3 separate regions of the Homo sapiens genome follow, and all the other regions are linked to region 3. Evidence: promoter capture Hi-C in 16 types of primary human blood cells and fetal thymus (Javierre and others, 2016). All regions are on one chromosome and are shown on one strand. Each heading gives the region's core, a stretch centred on a gene start or on the middle of the fragment in contact. The rest is flanking DNA. Distances are from core to core; before and after follow the strand shown. Region 1 holds the start of PPP1R37 (protein phosphatase 1 regulatory subunit 37). Region 2 holds the start of NKPD1 (NTPase KAP family P-loop domain containing 1). Region 3 holds the start of CKM (creatine kinase, M-type).

Evidence for each region. The method cuts DNA at HindIII sites, captures the fragments that hold promoters and counts their contacts. A CHiCAGO score of 5 or more calls a contact.
Region 1: a contact is called between the fragment with the promoter of PPP1R37 here and the fragment with the promoter of CKM in region 3, in 5 of 17 cell types (M1 macrophages, endothelial precursors, megakaryocytes and 2 more). The highest score is 8.4, in M1 macrophages.
Region 2: the fragment with the promoter of NKPD1 here is called in contact with the fragment with the promoter of CKM in region 3 in 2 of 17 cell types (erythroblasts and M1 macrophages); the score reaches 6.2 in erythroblasts.

The regions. Positions count from the first base shown.
Region 1 is chr19:45,091,695-45,095,828 of GRCh38, reverse strand. It overlaps PPP1R37 (protein phosphatase 1 regulatory subunit 37), which reads right to left and starts at 2,650. Exons shown (of 13, transcript NM_019121.2): 1 at 2,302-2,650. The coding sequence starts at 2,503. RefSeq lists silencers at 2,368-2,577, 4,095-4,134 and enhancers at 2,998-3,047, 4,048-4,134. The HindIII fragment of the contact is 14,988 bases long and covers 1-4,134 here.
Region 2 is chr19:45,159,354-45,162,963 of GRCh38, reverse strand. NKPD1 (NTPase KAP family P-loop domain containing 1) reads left to right here and starts at 1,982. Exons shown (of 5, transcript NM_198478.4): 1 at 1,982-2,039; 2 at 2,743-2,904. The coding sequence starts at 2,814. It overlaps TRAPPC6A (trafficking protein particle complex subunit 6A), which reads left to right. Exons shown (of 6, transcript NM_001270891.2): 6 at 1-31. RefSeq lists an enhancer at 1,700-2,332. The HindIII fragment of the contact is 37,147 bases long and covers 1-3,610 here.
Region 3 is chr19:45,321,038-45,324,730 of GRCh38, reverse strand. CKM (creatine kinase, M-type) reads left to right here and starts at 1,856. Exons shown (of 8, transcript NM_001824.5): 1 at 1,856-1,910. RefSeq lists an enhancer at 890-1,132. The HindIII fragment of the contact is 13,711 bases long and covers 1-3,693 here.

The DNA.
Region 1 (4,134 bases), core at 1,401-3,900, 230 kb after region 3:
CCCTGGGGCCTAGAGCCCAAGGACTTGGCTGGCTCCTAGTGCCAAAACTCTTTTTTTTTTTTTTTTTTTTAAGACCGGGTCTCTGTCACCCAAGCTGGAGTTCAGTGGCGCAATCACAGTTCACTGCACTATCGACCTCCTGGGCTCAAATGATCCTCCCACTTCAGCCTCCTGAGTTGCTGGGACTACAGGCGTGCACCACCACACCTGGCTAATTTTCGTATATTTTGCAGAGACGCGGTTTCACCTTGTTGCCCAAGCTGGTCTTGAACTCCTGGGCTCAGGTGATCTGCCCACCTTGGCCTGACAAAGTGCTGGGGTTGCAGGCATGAACCATGGCGTCCGGCCCAAAAGTCTTAATTTAACCACTGCCTCTTTAAGAATAACTAGCCAGCCGGGCACGGTGGCTCATGCCGGTAATCCCAGCACTTTGGAAGGCTTAAGTGGGCAGATCACCTGAGGTCGGGAGTTCGAGACCAGCCTGGCCAACATGGTGAAACCCCCAACTCTACTAAAAATACAAACATTTTTAGCCAGGTGTGATGACAGGTGCCTGTAATCCCAGATACTGAGGAGGCTGAGGCAGGAGAATTGGCCTGGGCGACAGAGGGAGACTCCGTCTAAAAAATTATAATAAGTAGCCAAACTGTCATTCATGATGGACTCCCTGTGTGTTCAGTTTCCAGTTACCATGTTTCCCACCCTCACATCAAAGCCACCAATTCCTCCATTGTCCACAGACTGGCAATAGTTTCTCCCCTTGCCCAGGGCCGGCAGATCAGCTTCTACAGAACCACGGCCACCACAGCCAGTCTGATCCCTCACTTCATGGGCTCCACCCCAGGAGAACTGACAGACTTCTCCAGCACAAAATGGACTCAACACTGCCCTGCATGTCCCAAGCGACTTTCCACTTTCCCAGCCCTATGGCTCCAACACACTCCTTTCAGCTCCAACACTGACCTGACCCTCTCCAGTGCGCTGGCCCTCTCTCCCAACACTTCAAGTAGCCAACTTTTTCATCTCTCTCACCTGCTACTGGCCAGCAACTCCAATTTCTGACTTGATAACATCCCCCAATTCTTTTTTTTTTTTTCTTTGAGCCGGAGTTTTGCTCTTGTCACCCAGGCTGGAGTACAATGTCGTGATCTTAGCTCACTGCAACCTCCACCTCCCGGGTTCAAACGATTCTCCCTGCCTCAGCCTCTTGAGTAGATGGGATTACAGGTGTGCACCACTATGCCCGGCCAATTTCTGTATTTTTAGTAGAGACGGGGTTTCCCCATGTTGGCCAGGCTGGTTTTAAACTCCTGACCTCAGGTGATCCACCCACCTTGGCCTCCCAAAGTGCTGGGATTACACGCCTGAGCCAATGCACCCGGCCATCCCCCAATTCTTTCTCAGGAAGGAACAAGAGGACCCTTCCGTAGCCATGTCCCAAACATCCTCTGCTCCTGAATGACTGACAGCCTTCCTTCTGCTTCTCTTTTTTTTGGAGGAGGAGGCGGCGGTAGGCGTTGGCTTTTCTTCTTAATACCACATTGCAGCAGGCGGCGGTGGCTCACACCTGTAATCCCAACACTCTGGGAGGCCAAGGAGGGAGGACAGCTTGAACCCAGAAGTCCGAGACCAGCCTGGGCAATGTAGTGAGACCTTGTCTCAATAAAAAAGAAAACATAAAAACCACACTGCCTCTTTCTCCCTCACCCAACCACAAATTGACCACCACCTCTGCTCCTCTTCTGGGACCTTATCTTGACTCCTTTTTACCAAGTCCTCTATAGCCACAGTCCAAGTTTATAGTCTCCCTCTTTCCAGCCAAGAAAGTGGCCAACACGACCACTCCTTGCCCCAAGGCTTGCAGACCAGCAACTTAACCTCTTTTTACCCCCATAGACCCATCAAACTCTTTCAACTGCCCTTTCAGGCCCAGTGTTGACCCGCTCCTCCTCTCAACTGCTCCTTCTCTCCTTCTCTGGTGGAACTACGAACGCAAAGGCTGCCACACTCTACATCTGACAAAACACCAAACTTTCTTTAATTGCTCATCGTTTTAAACCCTAAAACGATCACCATCTTTGTCTCGGGTGGGTGGGGTGCGGCAGAAACCAGATACTTTTCACCTTCCCAACTCCATAGCCACCCCCTTTCTAACAGACTACGGTTCTAAACTGACGACTGTCCCCTTATTCACCATTAGGTGCAATCTATTGAACGCCACCTCGAGCCGGGCCCTGCACCGATCCCTCCCGACTCCCGGGTCCCTCTCGAGCCCGCCCCCGCTTCACCCGCGGTAGCTACCATGTCTCCAGGGGTCTTTGGGCTCCACTGCTCCAGACACGATATCCTCGTCGGACGGGAATGTGACGCGCTTGGCTGCAGCCTTGAGGCGCCCATCGGCGGGGGGCGACGCGGGGCTGGGAGACCCGGCCTCAGCTGGGGCCTCTTCAATGTCGCCGTCCGCGCCCGGCACGGGCGGCGCCTCCTGCGGCGCGATCTCCATAGCCGCCGCCGCCTCCTCACGGGGGCCCCGGGGACATGCCCCGGGCCCCGGATTTGTCTCTCCGGGTCCGCCCGCCGTCCCGGGGCATGGGCTCCGCCGCCGCTTCAGGCGCCGCCTCCGTCCGCTCTCCTAGTGGTCGTAGTCGTCGCCGCCGGGAGCCCAAGCGCGCCTCCGCCGAGCCCCGCGCGCGCCTGCCCGTTCGCAGTCACACTTTCGCTCGAGGCTGGCGAGCCCGCCGCTTACTATAAGAAGCAGAAAATCGATTTCAGCGACTTGCACGTAGAGTTGTCCCGCGGGTGACATGAAGAGAGAAACAAAGGGCAGGAAGGGCCACGGAAAAAAGAAACGTGAGCAGCGAATCTGCAGAGCCGGAACTGCAGACTATGAGGGGCGGGGCGAAGTAGACGCCGTCTCCAAGAGCAGCGCGCAAGCGCGAAGCTGAGCCCACGCCTTCCTGCCGGAGTCCAAATAACGAATATTCAGCTCCCGCACATTCGTCAAGAGCCCAGGGAATGGAGTGCATAGAACTGAAAACACCTGGCGGGGCGCGGCGGCACACGCCTATAATCCCAGCACTTTGGAAGGCTGAGGCGGGAAGATCGCTTGAGTCCAGGAGTTCGAGACCAGCCTGGGCAACATAGCAAGGCCCCGTCTTTACAAAAAATTTAAAAATTAGCAGGGTCTGGTTACAGGAGCCTGTAGTTCCAGCTACTTGGGAGGTGGGAAGATCGCTTGAGCCCGGTAGGTTGAGGCTGCACTGAGCTATGATCGCGCCCCTGCACTCCGACCTGGTAGACAGAGCCAGACCCTGTCTCAACGAAAGGAAAGAAATGGGCCGGGCGCGGTGGCTCACGCCTGTAATCCCAGCACTTTGGAAGGCCGACACGGGCGGATCACGAGGTTAGGAGATCGAGACCATCCTGGCTAACACGGTGAAACCCCGTCTCTACTAAAAATACAAAAAATTAGCCGGGCGTGGTGGCGGGCGCCTGTAGTCCCAGCTACTCGGGAGCCTGAGGCACGAGAATGGTGTGAACCCGGGAGGCGGAGCTTTTAGTGAGCCGAGATCGTGCCACTGCACTCCAGCCTGGGCGACAGAGCAAGACTCCGTTCCCCCCCCCCCAAAAAAAACAAAGGAAATAAATGAAAACATTGAGGCTAGACTAACTGATGAAGAGTGGTAACGGCATGAAGAAGTCGAAAAGAAAGGCGGATAGGAGCTGCATTCAATATATGAGTGCAGTTGATGGATGCTGACAGGGATACTCTGGAGACGAAGTCTCGGCCCCTTCGCTAGTCTCTAGTCCTCCATTTGCTCGCTGCAGTTACATCAACAGCTCTCTGTATCGGGGTAGAGTTGCATAAAATACAACTTAAATTACAATGCTAAAATAAATATGAGCCCATGAGCGGTATCATAGGCCTGATTTTAAAAAACAAAACCTAGGAGAAGGTAGAAATTCCAAAGGCGAGAGACGAATCTGCCAACCTAAATCCTGGGTGACAAGGCTGGTGGATCACCGAGGCAAGAAAGAACCAGCGTGAGCTCAAGCCACACCCCTAGGCTCAGACCCAACGCTTGACATTCGCCGCCGCACTTTCGCCACGCTTGCCGAAGCGCACCCGGCTAA
Region 2 (3,610 bases), core at 733-3,232, 160 kb after region 3:
TAGCTGCTCAATAAAGGCTGTGTGTGTGGAATCTGACTCAGAGCAGTGGGGGAGGATCTGTGGACCGACTGTCACAGGTCCTGCAGGGGAGTGGGTACCCTCTCTGGCTCCCATGCCCCTCAGACCTTCCCTCCCCTGCCACGTCCCCCTCCACTCCCTCCCTCCCCGTGCTCCTGGCAGAGGGATGCTGGCCTCCGGCATGGGCGGCCTTACTGGCACCTCTGCCAAGTCAACAAGTCTGGGGCTGCCCTCTGCCCGGCGATGTGCACAGAACGGAGCGTCTTCCTGGGGAGCAGGGCTGGGAGTGCCCGGAGTGTAGGCCAGGTCGGGCTGGGGCTGCCAGGGCTGGGGATGCATGGGGTAGGGGGAGGCCAGACACCCCCATGGACACACGCGGCCCCTACGCACTCCTGCTGCCCGTCCCTGGGCAGAGTGGCCCTTATGCTGCCCCCTCCCACCCCGCTCGCATCTGTAGCATCTGGGGACTCCTGGGCTTCGCCGCCCGCTGCCTGACATGGGTAAGTGCCCCAGGCTCAGAGCTGCCCACCAAGGCTGGGGGTGAACCCCAAATGGGATGAGAAAGGGGCCCCTTGCTAAAGAACCTCCCCTGTAGAGTGGGGTCCAGTCACCCCGTCAGGCCCTGCCTGGGTCACCCCTTCCTATTCCACCTGGCTGAGTGTAGCTGTGTCCTGTGTCTGCCTCTGCAGTGCTGCCCGCCTGGCCCACTCCCCAAACGCCTGCTCCCCCTAGTGTCCAGCAGCCTCCTGGCCACTGTGCTCCCAGCCCGGGGCAATCTCGTCCTGCGGAGACGGCTCATTTACATTGGGCCACGCTTCATGATCGGGCCGGGGGTGTGGGGGGTTGGCACGGAGGCCCACTGCAGATGCCCACGCTCAGATGCCAGCCCCGCCTCCCTGGTGGGCCAGGGAGGAACCTTCCCAGAGCAACCGGCTTGAAGGGTGGGGGAGGAGACGGGGTCCCAGGTCGCAGGAAGGGCCCTGGCTCTGGCCGTAGGGAGCAGTGTTTGGTCACCTGGGCAGAACTCAGGGCTGGGTGGGTTCCCTTTATCTTGTCCTGGGCACTGTTCTGGGGCTGCCTCCCCCATCCCCATCGGAGCACCCCGTCTGTCAGGGAAGCAACTGTTGACCCCGTTACGCCAGCAGCCACAGGGAGCCGGGGCCCCAGAGAGCCGAGGGGCCTTCAGGGCATCTCCTGCCCAGCCTTACCCCGGCCCTCACCCCTCAGAGGGCATCTGTGGGGAGGCAGTCACTGAGTGCTGGCCCCGAGGGCAGGAGACAGAGCCTTGGCGAGCCTGGGAGTAGCAACCACTGACTGCTTCCAAATCCCCGCCCTGCCTCTGTGTGCCCTGGGGCCGAGGACTTCACTTCTCTGGGCCTCAGTGTCCTCATCTGTGAAGCGGGCATCACACCTGGCCCCCTGGGTGGTGGAGAGGAAGACGGGGCTATGGTGTAGCAAGCCTTGATGTGTGTGCTGTTGCCCTTGTCCTATGGACATCCATTTAGAACAGCGCCAGGTAAATGGGTCAGCACAGCCCCGGGTCAGGTGCGCCAGGCCCTGAGCTGAGGGGACTCCCACCCAGTGCCTCCCTCGCGACAGCCACGAGAGGCAGGTGCCCACTCAGCAATGAGGAAGCCATGGCTCGGAGAGTGAAGTCACCTGCCCAAGGTCACATACCTGGGCCACGGAGGAGCTGGCATCCCAGCTCCCTGTCCCCCCCACACCAGCAGAAGTGCCTGGGCCTGTGGCTGCCTTAAGGAGATTGAGGCAGTGCTGCGGGATGCATCTCCGTTCCTTACCAGGGATGGGGACACAAGACTGAGTCCAGTCGGAGTCCCAGTCCTCGAGAGCAGAGAGCACTGGGACAGGCAGGCGCTGGGGAAGGGGCGGGGACAGGCAGGCAAACCGGTCAGGCGGGCACTGGGCTGAGGCCTCCATCTGGATGGGCCTGCGCTGACAGTCCGGGCTGGTGTGGCAGCTGCTCGTGGGGCAGGCAGCTGGGGCCGTGAGGCCACCGTCAGGTACGAGTGGGACTGGGACTGGGGGTGGGGAGTGGTGGGCAGGCTACCAACTCTCAGCACCCCAGTTTCCTCTGCCCCTCAGCCTTTCCCTATCCCTGTCCCCCACACAGCATCCTTCCCTGTCCTGCTTTCGGCTCTTCACATTGGAAACGCGGTACACCCATCTTGCCCGAGTTTGCTGAGCCTCTCCCCAAATTGGACCACCGCGATTTCATTGCTCCCTCACAATTCCCCCTCCACCGTATCATTCAATGCCCACAGGTACCCAGCTCTGATTTTCACTCACCCTGCTTCTCATCTGCTCTCCAGCTCACCTCACTAGCTCCATGTCCTTCCAAAGCGTGCCAGCCTCCCACAGCGCCCACACCTTAATGACCCCTTGGTCACTCAGCCACCACACCGGACCCCCTATTTCCCCAGCCCATGTCTGCTCAGCACTCCCCAGTGTCCTAGCCTCTTGGAAACTCCCAGGAGCTTCCCAACACCCAGCCTCAAATTAACCCCTAGCCAACCCCAGCGGTTCTCCGTTCCCTCCTCTGGCCATCCCTCCTTATCCTGCCCCTCACTGTACCCTGAAGGCCACCTCTACCCCCTTCTCCCAAGTGACCTAGGAACCCAGCATCTGGGACTTGGCCTTTCCCCTGTCCAAGCTGTCGGGCAGGGCAGGGACCCTGACCTCAGCTCTCTGCTGTTCGTGCCCCAGAGGCTACGCCAAGCCTGTGTGCTCCCTCCTGCCTCAGGAGCAGGCCCCCAGCACCCAGCTGCCCGGCTGCCATGCACAAACATTACAAAGTCCACTTCGCCAAGGATGCCCAGAGCCCCAACGGGCACTACTTCTGGGACCCAGAGTTGGGGCACCGAAAAGGTACGGGTTCAGTTTGGGGGCGGGTGATGGCCGACAGAGGCCTGTGAGGAAGCCAGAGTGAATGGAGGAACAGAAGGGGAGCTGTCATCCCCAGGAGAGAAAAGCCACTTGCACTCCACCCAGAGGCATCTGTGTAGCAGCAGGGCCTGGGACCCAGGACCCGGACCACAGGGCCTGCGGGCCCAAAGATAGGAGCCTGGGCTGGAGTTGGAAGCAGGGGCCGCCTGGCCTGCCCTGCCCCGTTTCCAAACCCTGAGGCCTGTGTGGATGGCCTCCAGCCTGGAGGGGAGCAGTGTGCTGGGAGTGAGGGGTAGGAGAGGGAGCCCCCCCACTGAACATGTCTGGATGAGGCTGGGCCCAGTTTCTGGTGGTGACCACAGGTGATCTTGTTCAGGGTGGGGAGGGGGCAGTGCCCTCCCACTGGGGCTGATTCAGCCTCCTCAGGGCTAGGGCGAGGGCTGGAGCTTCCCAGGTCACCACCCTTCCTGCCACCCTGGCCCGAGCTGGGGACAAGGTCCACCCCCCACCCAAATCCCTGGCCTACCCCTCTCCACGCCACCACCCATCACTCCGGCCTCCCTGGGCCAGCCAGGGCCAGCTCCCAATGGATCTTCTCAGTTTCCCTGACCCCTGCACTGGCGGCACCCCCCAGGGATCCAGGAATCTGCTGTGGCAGGCACCAGCCTCCATTGAAGCCCCAACCTCA
Region 3 (3,693 bases), core at 607-3,106:
CTAACATTTTCACTGTCAATCACAATGGGATTAAAACTCCTCCCACAGCCCCTAGGGCACCATGGGTCTGCTCCTGTCTCCCCTCCAACCTCATCTTCTTCCTCCCACTCTCTCCTTGGCCCCATCTGCTCCAGTCCCCTGGCCTCCTTCCTGTCTGTCCTCAGATGTGCCCAGCCATTCTCACCTCAGCGCCTTTGCACCTGCTGTTCCCCCCAGAGCCGCACATGGCTGGCTCCCTGTTCTCCTTCAGGTCTCTGCTCAGATGTCATCTTCCCAAAGAGGCCTGCCTCGACCTCCCCTGCTGCTGTGCCGTCCCCTCATCTGTGACCCTCTTGCACTATCACCTCCAGGACGGCGGGGGTTTTGTGTTTTGTTGTAGCCTCAGGAAGTGCCTGATAGATCCCTGTTTCGAGACCAGTTCCATTTGGTTTTCTGGGCCTCAGTTTCCGTAACCGTGAAGGAGACCCTCGGCAATCTGAGCTTGCTGGGAAAGGGCTGGGCCCCATGTAAATATTTCTAAAGCACCCCTCTCCCCTCCCCCCTCAGATCAGGAGTCTGAGGGAGAGGCACAGAGGCTCCCTTTCTCTAAGCCAGTCCTCACCTGCCTAAGAAGATGTGAAGGAGACCCAGGAGACCCTGGGATAGGGAGGAACTCAGAGGGAAGGGACATTCTTTTCTTCGTCGCAATCCTGGGAGCTCCCTGGAGGAGGAGACCCGATCAGCCTGCAATCCTGGCGCGTCCCAGGAGGAGAAAGCGGCTTCCTCTATACTGTACTCTCCTCCACAGAACCCCCCTCTCAGCCCTGGAAGTCCTTGCTCACAGCCGAGGCGCCGAGAGCGCTTGCTCTGCCCAGATCTGCGCGAGTCTGGCGCCCGCGCTCTGAACGGCGTCGCTGCCCAGCCCCCTTCCCCGGGAGGTGGGAGCGGCCACCCAGGGCCCCGTGGCTGCCCTTGTAAGGAGGCGAGGCCCGAGGACACCCGAGACGCCCGGTTATAATTAACCAGGACACGTGGCGAACCCCCCTCCAACACCTGCCCCCGAACCCCCCCATACCCAGCGCCTCGGGTCTCGGCCTTTGCGGCAGAGGAGACAGCAAAGCGCCCTCTAAAAATAACTCCTTTCCCGGCGACCGAGACCCTCCCTGTCCCCCGCACAGCGGAAATCTCCCAGTGGCACCGAGGGGGCGAGGGTTAAGTGGGGGGGAGGGTGACCACCGCCTCCCACCCTTGCCCTGAGTTTGAATCTCTCCAACTCAGCCAGCCTCAGTTTCCCCTCCACTCAGTCCCTAGGAGGAAGGGGCGCCCAAGCGCGGGTTTCTGGGGTTAGACTGCCCTCCATTGCAATTGGTCCTTCTCCCGGCCTCTGCTTCCTCCAGCTCACAGGGTATCTGCTCCTCCTGGAGCCACACCTTGGTTCCCCGAGGTGCCGCTGGGACTCGGGTAGGGGTGAGGGCCCAGGGGGCACAGGGGGAGCCGAGGGCCACAGGAAGGGCTGGTGGCTGAAGGAGACTCAGGGGCCAGGGGACGGTGGCTTCTACGTGCTTGGGACGTTCCCAGCCACCGTCCCATGTTCCCGGCGGGGGGCCAGCTGTCCCCACCGCCAGCCCAACTCAGCACTTGGTCAGGGTATCAGCTTGGTGGGGGGGCGTGAGCCCAGCCCCTGGGGCGGCTCAGCCCATACAAGGCCATGGGGCTGGGCGCAAAGCATGCCTGGGTTCAGGGTGGGTATGGTGCGGGAGCAGGGAGGTGAGAGGCTCAGCTGCCCTCCAGAACTCCTCCCTGGGGACAACCCCTCCCAGCCAATAGCACAGCCTAGGTCCCCCTATATAAGGCCACGGCTGCTGGCCCTTCCTTTGGGTCAGTGTCACCTCCAGGATACAGACAGCCCCCCTTCAGCCCAGCCCAGCCAGGTACTGCACGGGGCGGGAATCTGGGTGGGGGCCAGAGTAGGGGATTTCTGTGGGTGCTAGAGGCTTGGCTTGGGAAAGGGTCTGTGTGTCACCCCTTGCTCCACCAACATCCTCCTATACAAAGGCAGGTCGGTGCGTGGGAAGGTTGACCCTTGTGTGTCTGGGAGGCCCCTCCATCTGTGAGGCTGCCTGAACCCCCCACTGGGACCTGTGATTTCTGCGGCACAAGTCTTGGGTTATGGGGAGGGATCCGAGATGAAAGGGGTCCTGACAGCTGCCAACTGTCACCCCCTGCAAGGGGCTGTTGAGCCAGGCCTGTGTTCATTACAGTTTGTCGCCAACACTGGCGCCACAAGCCGTGGGAGGTGTGTCTGTCGCCTAGCAGAGTCTGCAAGAGCAGGTGTCGCAGGCTTTCTTTGCGTTTGCTACTGTGTGGGTCCCTGTGACCTTGTTTCTGACTTAGTAGCGGACACATGAGTGTCCTGGGCATGTCCTTGAGTTTGGAAGTGTGACTGTGTGACTTAGTTTACAGTGTGATCTGGGGAGTCTGCGGTGGTGGGGGTGTGTGGCTCTGGGGCTTTCTGCTTATGTCTCTTGTGGGGGGGGTCACCACCCTGCCTCAGTGCCCTCTCCTGGGGTGTCCCTGGCAGGGATTAGGGGGGCATCCTCTGAAGGGAGGGGGTCTGGGCTGCCATCCCAGGATGTCCTTGAGCCCCGAGGCCTGGACCCGTGTCCTCCCAGCCACCCTGGCCCACCTGTCTTGGGCCTGCTGACTTGGTGCAAGCCGAGCCCCGGAATGTGGGGGTGGGGCGGGGCAGCAGCTGGGGGTGGGATGGCAGGCAGTTGCCAGATTCTAAAAATAACCACCCTGGACAGCAGCACCCAAGGTCTTTGGCGGGTCCCTGTTCCTCTTCCCTGGCTTCAGCTCACCGTGGTCCCAATCTCCCTCCCACAATCCCACCTGCTTCCCATCCCCGTCTCCCACCGCTGCTGGAGGCCCCTTCTCCTTTCTGGGTCCCTTCTCCTTTCTGGGTCCAGTGAATAAAATAATAATAACAGTAGGACCTGGCGCAGTGGCTCACACGCATAATCCCAGCATCTTGGGAGGCCGATGCTGGAGGATCACTTGAGGCCAGGAGTCCCAGACCAGCCTGGGCAACATAGTGAGACCCCATCTCTGCAAAAAAGTAGTAATAACAAATAACAATAATAGCAGCCACCAGGGTTCCAGGCTCCAACTCCATGCCAGGGCCTGTGCTCAGCCAACCTCATGGCCAAGCTCAGAGGATCCTGGCAATCCTACGGGGCAGGCTCAGTTCACAGGAGACAGAGGTCCAGAGAGGCCTAGTGACTGGCCTGGGGTCACACAGCAGGGAAATGGCATAGGTGGGATTTGAACCTGCCTCTGACGACCCAGAGGCTGAGCTTTTCTTCCCTTCTGAGCCCTGTGGGAGAACTGTCAGCAGGCAGAGGTGGGGGCAGCTACCCAGCCCTCCCCCGACCCAGCCCTTTGTCTTTGGATTGATAATCCAAGAACCTGCTCACATACTCCCAGCAGCACCCTCACCTCCACCTTCTCACCAGCTCCTCGCACGAACCTTTAAAATAACAACAACAGGCCAGGTGCCGTGACTCATGCCTGTAATCTCAGCACTTTGGGAGGCAGAGGTGGGCGGATCACTTGAGTTCAGGAGTTCAAGACCAGCCTGGCCAACATGGCGAAACCCCAACTCTACTAAAAATACCAAAAAAAAAAATAGCCAGGTGTGGCACACGCCTGTAG